2 separate regions of the Homo sapiens genome follow, and region 1 is linked to region 2. Evidence: promoter capture Hi-C in 16 types of primary human blood cells and fetal thymus (Javierre and others, 2016). All regions are on one chromosome and are shown on one strand. The core of a region is centred on a gene start or on the middle of the fragment in contact, and the rest is flanking DNA. Distances in the headings are between cores, read along the strand shown. Region 1 overlaps KATNB1 (katanin regulatory subunit B1). Region 2 holds the start of GINS3 (GINS complex subunit 3).

Region 1 (4,523 bases), core at 172-2,671, 650 kb before region 2:
GGAGTACAGTGGTGCAATCTCAGCTCACTGCAACCTCTGCTTCCCGGGTTCATGCGATTCTCGTGCCTCAGCCTCCCGAGTAGCTGGGATCACAGGCACCCGCCACCACACCCGGCTAATTTTTGTATTTTTAGTAGAGACGGGGTTTCACCATGTTGGCCAGACTCGTCTCGAACCCCTGACCTCAGGTGATCCACGTGCCTCAGCCTCCCAAAGTGCTGGGATGACAGGCATGAGCCACCATGCCTGGCCAAGACTCCACACTTTTTAACCATGAATTTAACCATAAGACTCTGGGCAAAGCTCTTTGCAGGGCCTCTGTTTCCTTGTTTGTAAAGTGAGAGGTTTGGGCCATTTTCATGTTGTTCCCCAAAACTCTAGGGCTCTGGGAGAACCCTGTTATGGTTCCCCAAGGAAGGCACACTTTGGTCAGAGTGGCTTTGTAATTATTGGGATTACGTATTCATCCCTTCGACAGCTGGCCTTTCCCCAGAGCTAGGCACTGGGGAGCCACTGGGGGACAAAGTAGTCAAGGTCTCTGTACAGCGGGAGCTCAGAGCCTGGGGAGAGCAACAGGCAGGAACTGGATAACCGTATCCCTCTGTGTCTCCTCTAGTTGCAAGCTGGTGCCTGTGCTTTGAATCAGTTAGCTGGGGGGTAGGGGTAGGGGTGGGGTGGGAATGCTGCAGGCTGCATGAACAGCAAGTGCAAAGGCCCTGAGGCAGGAGGCTCAGTGTATTGGAAGGACTCAAGGGAGGCCATGGGCAGTGGCACAGCAGCAGGAGGAATGTGGGGCCGCACGGACCTACTGAGTTCTCAGGACCCCAGCCCTCCTGAGGCTGCCGTGCTTTATCATAAAGGCAAGGCCAAGCCATCAGTGTGTGCGAGCAGGAGGTAATGAGATCAGGCGTATTGGGCATCTGCTGCTGCTGCTGATTTCATGTGCACGGTGGTGTCCGTGGGAATCAACTCTGAAGAGCCCAGGGCCACGTGACCTCTGGCTCCTTGTGGCTCCAGGGTCTGGTGAGGATCAGAGGTGCGTGGCCCACATGAGGTCGTTGAAACCTAGTACTTTGTATCTTGCATTTGGGATGCTGATCCTCAGCCCCTCTGGCCACGCCGCACCATGTTCCCCAGCTTTGGCTGGATGTGGGGCCCAGGTTGTACTCCCAGAGCTTGGCCTGCCAGTAGACACTGAGGATTTTTATTTTTTATTTTTGGTATGAAAATCAAGTATTCGGCCTGGGCTGTTGGTTGCTGTCCAACAAGCCAGGATGAAGGAGGAGCTCTTGGGGTGGTGCCCCGTGCCTCCTTTGCAGGTGCCTGTGCTGTGTCCCTGCCCCTCTGCCCTCCCTCTGTGGGCTCCAGTCAGTCCCTGGTCAGGCTGCTTAGAGGGGAGTGATGTGGGCTCCTCCAGAAGGGCCCAACTTCTAAATCTTTCTCACTCCAAAGTCTGCGGTTTTGCCAGCTCAGTGTCCCGCCCCCACCACCATCTGATTATACTGGGGCATATTTCGTGCAAGGCCTAGAACAGGCACCCAGGAAATACTGATATTATGAATGAATGCCCCTGACTCCAGGGGCAGCAGTCCTGAGGCCCAGTGAGGTGGGGCCCAGCCAGACACTTTCCCTGGGAGGAGTGAGGGCCAGGGGACAGACAGAGCCCTCCAGGTAGGCCAGGGGGAGCGAGCAGTGCCTCCACGGAGAGGACACCAGGCTCGGGCACGGAATGCCAGGGAGAAGGTGCTTTGCCCTCTTTCTGGGTCAGGTGGAAACCTTGAACAGACACGTCTGTGGCTGGAATTCCTCAGGTTTCTGTCCCGACAGTGTCCAGAGGACAGAAGGCTCTCATCGAGACGGGACTAAAGTGGGGCCCAGCTCCCTGGGATCCCCATGGCGAACTCCCAGCGCCCTGGCCCAGGTTTGGGCCCACAGGGAACCCTCGCCCTTGCTGGCGCTGCTGCCTGTGCTGGCTCTGCCCCGACCGGCCCAGGAGGCAGGGTGTCATCAGTGAGATTCAGCCTGCGACTTGTCCCCTGGGTATTCCTGGTGGCCCCTTGGAGCCCAGGTTTCTGGCAAGCAGCTTCCCTGGGCCCAGTTTCCCAACCTCCTTGTGGTCTGAAGCCCGCAGCAGAGACACCCAGGCAGGGTGGAGTCGGAGCTGGGGTGCAGGAGGGGCCTCTGTGGAGCGCCGTGGCTCCAACACCCTTTTCCTTGGCGTCACCCACGCTGGCCTTCCGGGTGCCTCGGGGCGTCAGCACCTTGGGGTTTTCCCCTGGCCTGTGTGGGGAGAACTGTCTTTTTTCTCCCTTCTTTCCAGGAGGAGCTCATGCAGGGATGGGTTCTGAGGCCCGGGCCGCCTCTTGGTTCCCTGCCTGTGCTTTGCTCCCTGCGGAGTCCTCCGAGGCTCCTGTCTGCCATCTCCACGGACCAGGCCAGGGCCTTGGGCTGTCTGCACAGGCTCCTCCTCTGTGTGGTCAGCCCTCACCCCCACCCCAGCTGCTCAGTCTGTTGCCTCCTGCCCCCTCCTCATGAAGCCCACCCTCTGGTGCCCGCCCAGGCCCCCATGCCCACTCTCTCATGGTGACTAGCCCCGAGCCTGCCCAATGTCACGGAGCCCTCGCCTGCTACTAAGCAGCACGTAGGCGCGCTCTGAGGGAGTCCTCAGCATCAGGTGTGAGCAGACACCACGGGCATCCCCACTTTCCAGACGAGGAGCCAGGCCCTCAGAGGACAAGTGACCTAGTAGCCAAGGCCACGCAATAGCAGATCACAGACCTCAGACCAGAACCTGATCCGTGATTGTGAATCTGAGCCGAAGCCCTGTGCAGGCTTACCTGGGGGCAGCTTGTCTAGAGGTGACTTCGGTTGTTCTTAAAGTGTGTTCTCCAAAGCAGGGTTTGTATGTACACACAAGCAGCAGCTGAGAGGTGTGTAGGCAGTGCATGGGTCAATTTTTTTTATTTCAATAATTGTTTTTCTTTTTGTATCATAGAAAGAGTATCATGAGTATATCAAACTTGTAATTTCATGGACATTGCTTAAGCCCAAGCTAATAAAAATAGCAAGTCAATTTTAAAAATTGCGTATAACTAGTCAATATTACCAGGTGATATGCAGAAACAGGAAGAAAATCGTGAAGTCTAAAGGTAGGAAAGACAGGCATGATGAAAGTTGAGAAACAGTGATTTCCGTCTCAGGCCCATGCCCTGCCCTGTCTGCTGGTCCTGCAGCTCATGGTGGACACCAAAGGGGGAGCTGAAGGAGGCAGATCCTTCCACTGGGCTTCAGGTTCCAAAGCGGGTAGCCGAGCAGGGTCACCCCTCCTTCACAAGGCCCCATCGGGCCGCCCTGATGGCCTCTCCCTCTCCTTCCCTGTGTAGAAGAGATCGTCGCGCATGCCAGCAACGTGTCCTCACTGGTGCTGGGCAAAGCCTCCGGGCGGCTGCTGGCTACAGGCGGGGATGACTGCCGCGTCAACCTGTGGTCCATCAACAAGCCCAACTGCATCATGGTGAGCCCCGACAGCTGGCGGGGGGTCAGGACAAGGGCCTGGGGAGGGGACGGGGACAGGGGTTGGAGGCTGAAGAGTGAGCAGCTTCTCAGACTCTCTTGAGCCCAGGGCCCCCTATCCGCTGGGGCCCAGCTCAGGGGTGGAGGGGGCGTGGTGGGGACACCATCAGTGCTTCCCCCAGCTGTCTGCTCAGTGAGGCCCAGGACAGCCCAGCATGGCTGGGACAGTGGCCAGCCCTCAGGAGCGAGGGAGTCACCTGCCTGTGGTACTATTAAGAACTCCAGGCAGGCTGCGTGAGAAGATTAAAATAAGCCCTGGGCCTGTGGTTGAGCCAAAAGACTTGTACCCCTCCCCTCCCACCTGCCCATCTGCCTGCCTGGCAGCAACATGTGGGCGTTTATTTTAATTCATTCCCAGCCTTCATTCCCCAATGAGGATTTGAGGGGACCTGGCTGGAGCTGGTTAGGGAGCTAGTTCTTAAATAGCATCTCCCCACTATTTATGCAGCTATATGTTCAATGCTGGAAACTGTTTTCCAAATAGGAGTGCATAAAGGAGAAAACACAAAATTAACTACATATAGTTCCGTTATCCAAAGGCCACCACAGTTGGTGTTTTGGTGTGAGTCCTTCTAGATGCTGAGACAGATACATATACGTGTACATGCACGTAAGTGCACACTTGTACATGCATGTACACATGTATACACACAAATACTCATACAAGCACACACACATAAATAAAAATACACTGCCACTCTTGTGCAGCCTGGTTTTTAAAAATAACAATGTTGTAAGGATTTGCCTGTGTCAACAAGTATTCTTTTACAACATAATTTTGAATGGCTTAATGGTGTTCCATTGTAGGGATGAGCCGTAATTAGCTTAGCCACACCCTGTTATCAGCAGAGAGGTTGTTTCCGGCTTTTTTTGGCTCTGCTAAAGCACCCTGTGGTGAACATCCTCAGCCACCTAGATCCTTGAGCAGATCCGTGATCACTGCATTCAAT
Region 2 (5,225 bases), core at 1,838-4,337:
CAAGGAAAACCCCCAAATTTTGACCTGACCAAGCAACTGGAAGGATGGCGCCCAATACATTTCTTTTTTCTTTCTTTTTCTTTCAATGAACCATGTGTACAGTTTTTCATATTTCTTCTTTTTCTCCCCACCCCCAGATTTGCATTTCTGTCACTTGCACCACAACCTCCCCACTCAATGAAAGAAATTTAGAAAGCACTGGTATTCAAAAGAACAGACGTAAAACTGCTTGAGGTTTTGCTCATCTAAAGCCTGTGTGTTCTTTGGAGGCTATGACTTTTGAGGGCAAGTCATAAAAGCTAAAGAGGCCCCTGCCCTGTTCACCAAAACACTTGTTCTAAGTTCTAAAACACTGTAGTTCTATGATTCTGAAATCTTGAAAGGATTACAATGAAAAAAATACTCTGTTTTCAAGAATCCAGCAGACACTTTTCAGAATACTAAATTTTGTATATTGTAAATATACCAAATATACTGTGAATATTATCAGTATAATGCAATTCTGTTCAGCATAATACTGGTACATTGATTGGTTGGCTGGGTGCCAAGGAACACAGCTTTCTCAGGGAACAGAAATACTCCTGGTTCTTAGGATTTAAGCTATTAACACATATCTATGCTTGAAAACCACATGCCACTTTTGTTAAATGAATTGATGCAGTTCAGCATCATAAGCTCAAACATTCACTAATTTCACCTTTTTCTGATTTATTCACTTGTTTATTAGTTCAAGGAGAGGACAGTTTAAATAGAACAATATATACACAATGATAGTTTCATGATGAGCCAAGACATTAAGTAAGACAAACAAGGCAATCTGATTTTATGTTAAACATTGGCCTGTTACTGTATTATTAAAATAATAGTGGTATTTGAGTTTGGAGCCAGTATTGTGGTCTCTGTACAAAAATAATGCCTTTCTTTGGCATCAATAAATCAGTATGCATCTATCTTAATTATATCAGCATAAAAAATAGCTTACTCTCCTTGGCAGTAAATAACATTGCCTTCAATTAGCCAAATTATATTTCTGTCTCAAACTACATCCAGTACCATATATTCCATGTCATCAGAGAAATTCTAAATTATCACTGCAGATTGTGTTTATTTTTACATTGGACTGTATCACAAACTGAACATTTAAAATATGAAAAAGGAAAAAACCTTCATATAACTGCCTCTCAGTGTGCCTCCTCTCTAAAGCTTCTAGGCTGCTTTCTCCACTGGGCTGCAGACCTTCCTGTCTAGTAGCTCTTGGACACCATGTGTCCCAAACTGAACTCATCCCTTCCCTCCAGCTGCCCCTATTCCTGTGTTCTGTGTATCTATTCATGACATGTCCATCCACCTGGTCAGCCACGTTCAAAACTTGAATCTTTTGACTACTCACTATACTTCACTTCCTATATCCAATTGGTTGCCAAATACTGCCCACTGAACAGCTTCCAAGCATCTAATCTCTCTCTTCTTTATCTACTGCTGGAATTCTCTTCCTGAAGCCCAGATTTATGTTATTATTTGCCTTACATTTTCCTCCCATTTTCTATGGAATGGCCTAACTCCTTAGAATGGTACCAAGATTTTCCACAGTTTGGCCATTCCTTTCCACCCCACTGCACCTTGTTTTCATTGTCCTCAGAATTTCATTTATAAAGGTGACTGGGTGATGACAATCAATGAGTTAGTGGCCAATGCCTTTGAAAATTTTATTATAGTTCTCAAGAGAAGGGGCTGTGCCTACGGCCACACGAGAAAGTATTAGGGTCAATGAGGAGGTAGAGAGAGCGAGGAGAAAGCCCAGAGCCTTTATTGCCGTGGGAAGGAATGGGCGAAGCAGGGAAGGGAAGTCTGAACAAGCTTAGGATTGAATAATTTGAATAATGTTGGCAAGCTCTGGGATATAGAGGTGAATTTTAGTTGTCTGGTACTTGGCCATGGGGTGGTTTATTACAGTGACTTGGGGCAGGGAAAATATTGGTGTGTGAGATGGATAAAGATGGTGTGGGGATATAGGCTTGGGTTGGTTGGTTTGTAAATGAAAGGGGTGTTCACAAGCAAGTTGTTTGCTATCTCTAGGAATTAGCTAACTCTGAAAGGGGCAATTCCTCCCCAGGTCCCCAAGGCCCCAAGATGTCAAAGCATCATAAAATACAGAAAACAGAAACTAAAATCCATGGTTAATACACACCTCCCTTCACACACACCCTTTACTCCCGGCTCCAGTAGCCCCAGAAATGCTCTAGACGAAGTAAGTTCTGTAGTGCATCTCTCAACAATATGCCGCCACCCATAGCCCTGGCTGAGGAGAGCCACCAAACCTGGTACTATGCGACCATGGTCCTTCCCCTGGTCACTGGATAGTGATCGCACCCAACACAGGCACCCCCATCTACAGGGTGGCTGGAGATCTATGACCATTGTGGCGTACCTGGACCAATCAATAAACTGGACCAATTGGATTTCCATTTTTAGGGATTTAAATTCAGAGCCACAAAAGGAGATTGTCAGTTGATGATGAGCTAAGACACCCTGAAGTATACTCACAACCTTAGCAAGCCATGTGCAGTCTAGTGCTCCACCCCTCTACCCACCCCGTCCAACCCCCACCAAAATACTAACAAAATACAACACACTAGTTCATCATCTAGACCATAATAACTCGCTGGGGATAGTGCTGGAAGTTTTTGTTTGTTTAACATTTCTTTCAAATACTAAGATTAACGGAGTTGCATAGTGAAAAAAACTGTAGGAAAGGGTCGGACTTAGGCCTGGAGTGAAGGGCACAAGATGCTTTTATTTTAAACCCCTAAAAGTGTTGCAAAGTGTTTTTAATTTCATATAAATAGTTAAGGATCACATGAACACAATCCAGTACAAATGGGTCCAGGAGCTTCAACGAGCGTTCCAGCTTCTTCGTAACGTTCCCACACCGTGCAGCAAGCGGAGGGAAGAGAACTTCCGGCGCCCCCACCTACCGCTCCCCAGCCGTGTCCCGCTGCTCTAAATCTGCAGACTTGATCGATTGCTTCTGCCTGGGCGGTACCGCCCGAATTGACTGCTCCTGTCTGATGCGTCCCCGGGCGCGGGAAACGAGTTTCAATCCACTTTCCTGACCCCAACCATCCTGCCCAGTCTCCGCTTCCCCGTCTTGTACACCCCTAACTCCTGAGGCTCCTCCGAATCACGCGAGTGGAAGCGGAGAAGCTCAAGTGGCCGCCATGTCAGAGGCTTATTTCCGAGTGGAGTCGGGTGCGCTGGGGCCTGAGGAGAACTTTCTTTCTTTGGACGACATCCTGATGTCCCACGAGAAGCTGCCGGTGCGCACGGAGACCGCCATGCCTCGCCTTGGCGCTTTCTTCCTGGAGCGGAGCGCAGGCGCCGAGACTGACAACGCGGTCCCACAGGTGAGCCTTTGGGTGCGGGGTCCTGCCCGGAAAGACTGCAGCTCCCGGCGGGCCCCTCGGCCCTGGGACGCCGCATCGGGGCGCGCTGCCCTTTGGGATTTGTAGTTTTCGAGGAGCCAGGGCCGAAGGCGCTAACGACTTCTCGGAAACTCCGCGGGGGTCCCTTCGCGCTCGGGGTGGTCTCCAGACTTCTTGTTCGCCATCTGTGGTGAAACTACATTTATCCTAGGTCGCCAGGCAGCCTCCAACATTGATTTCTTTTTTGAAACTGTCCAAATTAGTGTCTTCCCCCTACCCCATGCAACGTGTGTTGAATGCTTAAAGATTGGCTCCAGCTGAATACTTAAGAATTAGAGTTCTGATCATGTTTGCCTTAAAACAGCTTTGGGTTCTGTAAGAGCATGTGATAAGTAGGAACCCCAAGTTGCTAAATTCATTCCTCCATAATGATGACAGGATCAGTAAGCCCTACTGAGGCTTACTTAGTGGCAGCATGGTTGGGTGTGGGGAGTAAGCTTTTCCCTTTAATCCTTCAGCAACCAGAAAGGCTGGGTCACTTGGCCAGGGCTTCAGTTAGTGGTGAGCTGGGATTCGGAACCCAAGGCCATATGGCTTCAAATATAAAATTGTCCCAGGAACATGGCTTGTAATGATTAATTTGGATATCCTGTTTCACCTAAGTTTTGTATAGAACGATGTTTATTGTTTGGTCTGTTTGTTTCAAGTTAATTTTTATCAAAGTAATACATAACCAACGTTTTAAAAGTCAAATAGGCCGGATGCGGTGGCTCACGCCTGTAATCCCAGCACTTTGGGAGGCTGAGGCGGGCGGATCACGAGGTCAAGAGATCCAGACCATCCTGGCCAACATGGTGAAACCCCATCTCTACTAGAAAGCTGGGTGTGGTGGCCGGCGCCTGTAATCTCAGCTACTCTGGAGGCTGAGGCAGGAGAATTTCTTGAACCCAGGAGGCAGAGGTTGCAGTGAGCCGAGACTGTGCCACTGCACTCCAGCCTGGCGACAGAGTGAGACTCCATCTCAAAAAAAAAAAAAAAAAAAGTCAAATAGTACCAAAAGATTTATAAGAAAAAAAATAGCAGGTCCTGCCTTCCTTTTCCCACTTCCCCCTCCAAGTCCACAGGGCTCATGTACCTTTTTTAGTGGTGTCTTCAAGATTCATCTTCATATTTCTAAATAATATTCTTAAACTTACCTTGTTGGGTTGTTTTTTTTAATGTAGACATTATCTGTTGACTTCATCCTAGCAGATGAGGATTTCGTTCCCATACACACTGGTAAACATGGCGCTATGCTGCCCATACTTAATTCATATTTCCTTAGTTTTTAGTTAATGCCCTTTTTCTATTCTAGGATTCCACCTAGGATACCACACTGCATTTAGTAGACATGTTTCCTTAGCCTTCTCTTGGTTGTGACAATTAATCAGACCTCCTTGTTCTAATGACCTCGACGGTTTTGTGGAGTGGTGGTCAGGTATTTTGTAAAATGTTCCTCAGTTGGAAATCTTTGGTTTGGGGGTAGTTTTGTTTTTGGTTTTGTTTTTTTGTTTGTTTTTTTGACACGGAGTTACCCTGTCATCTAGGCCAGAGTGCAGTGGCATAATCTCAGCTCACTGCAGCCTCCTCCACCTCCTGGGTTCAAGCAATTCTGCCTCAGCCTCCCAAGTAGCTGAGATTACAGGCGCCCACCACCACACCCAGCCAATTTTTGTATTTTTAGTAGAGATGAGGTTTCACCAGGTTGGCCAGGCTGGTCTGGAACTCCTGACTTCAAGTGATCCACCCAACTCAGCCTCCCAA

What was found. The method cuts DNA at HindIII sites, captures the fragments that hold promoters and counts their contacts. A CHiCAGO score of 5 or more calls a contact.
Region 1: a fragment that was not itself captured here is called in contact with the fragment with the promoter of GINS3 in region 2 in 8 of 17 cell types (activated CD4 T cells, total CD4 T cells, naive CD8 T cells and 5 more); the score reaches 11.7 in activated CD4 T cells.

The regions. Positions count from the first base shown.
Region 1 is chr16:57,738,304-57,742,826 of GRCh38, forward strand. It overlaps KATNB1 (katanin regulatory subunit B1), which reads left to right. Exons shown (of 20, transcript NM_005886.3): 3 at 3,384-3,514. Among named protein-coding and RNA genes, the nearest start is that of KATNB1, 4.8 kb to the left of the region's middle. The HindIII fragment of the contact is 6,249 bases long and covers 1-4,523 here.
Region 2 is chr16:58,389,384-58,394,608 of GRCh38, forward strand. GINS3 (GINS complex subunit 3) reads left to right here and starts at 3,088. Exons shown (of 3, transcript NM_022770.4): 1 at 3,088-3,404. The coding sequence starts at 3,219. RefSeq lists enhancers at 2,727-3,304, 2,911-3,400, 3,305-3,881. The HindIII fragment of the contact is 2,062 bases long and covers 1,856-3,917 here.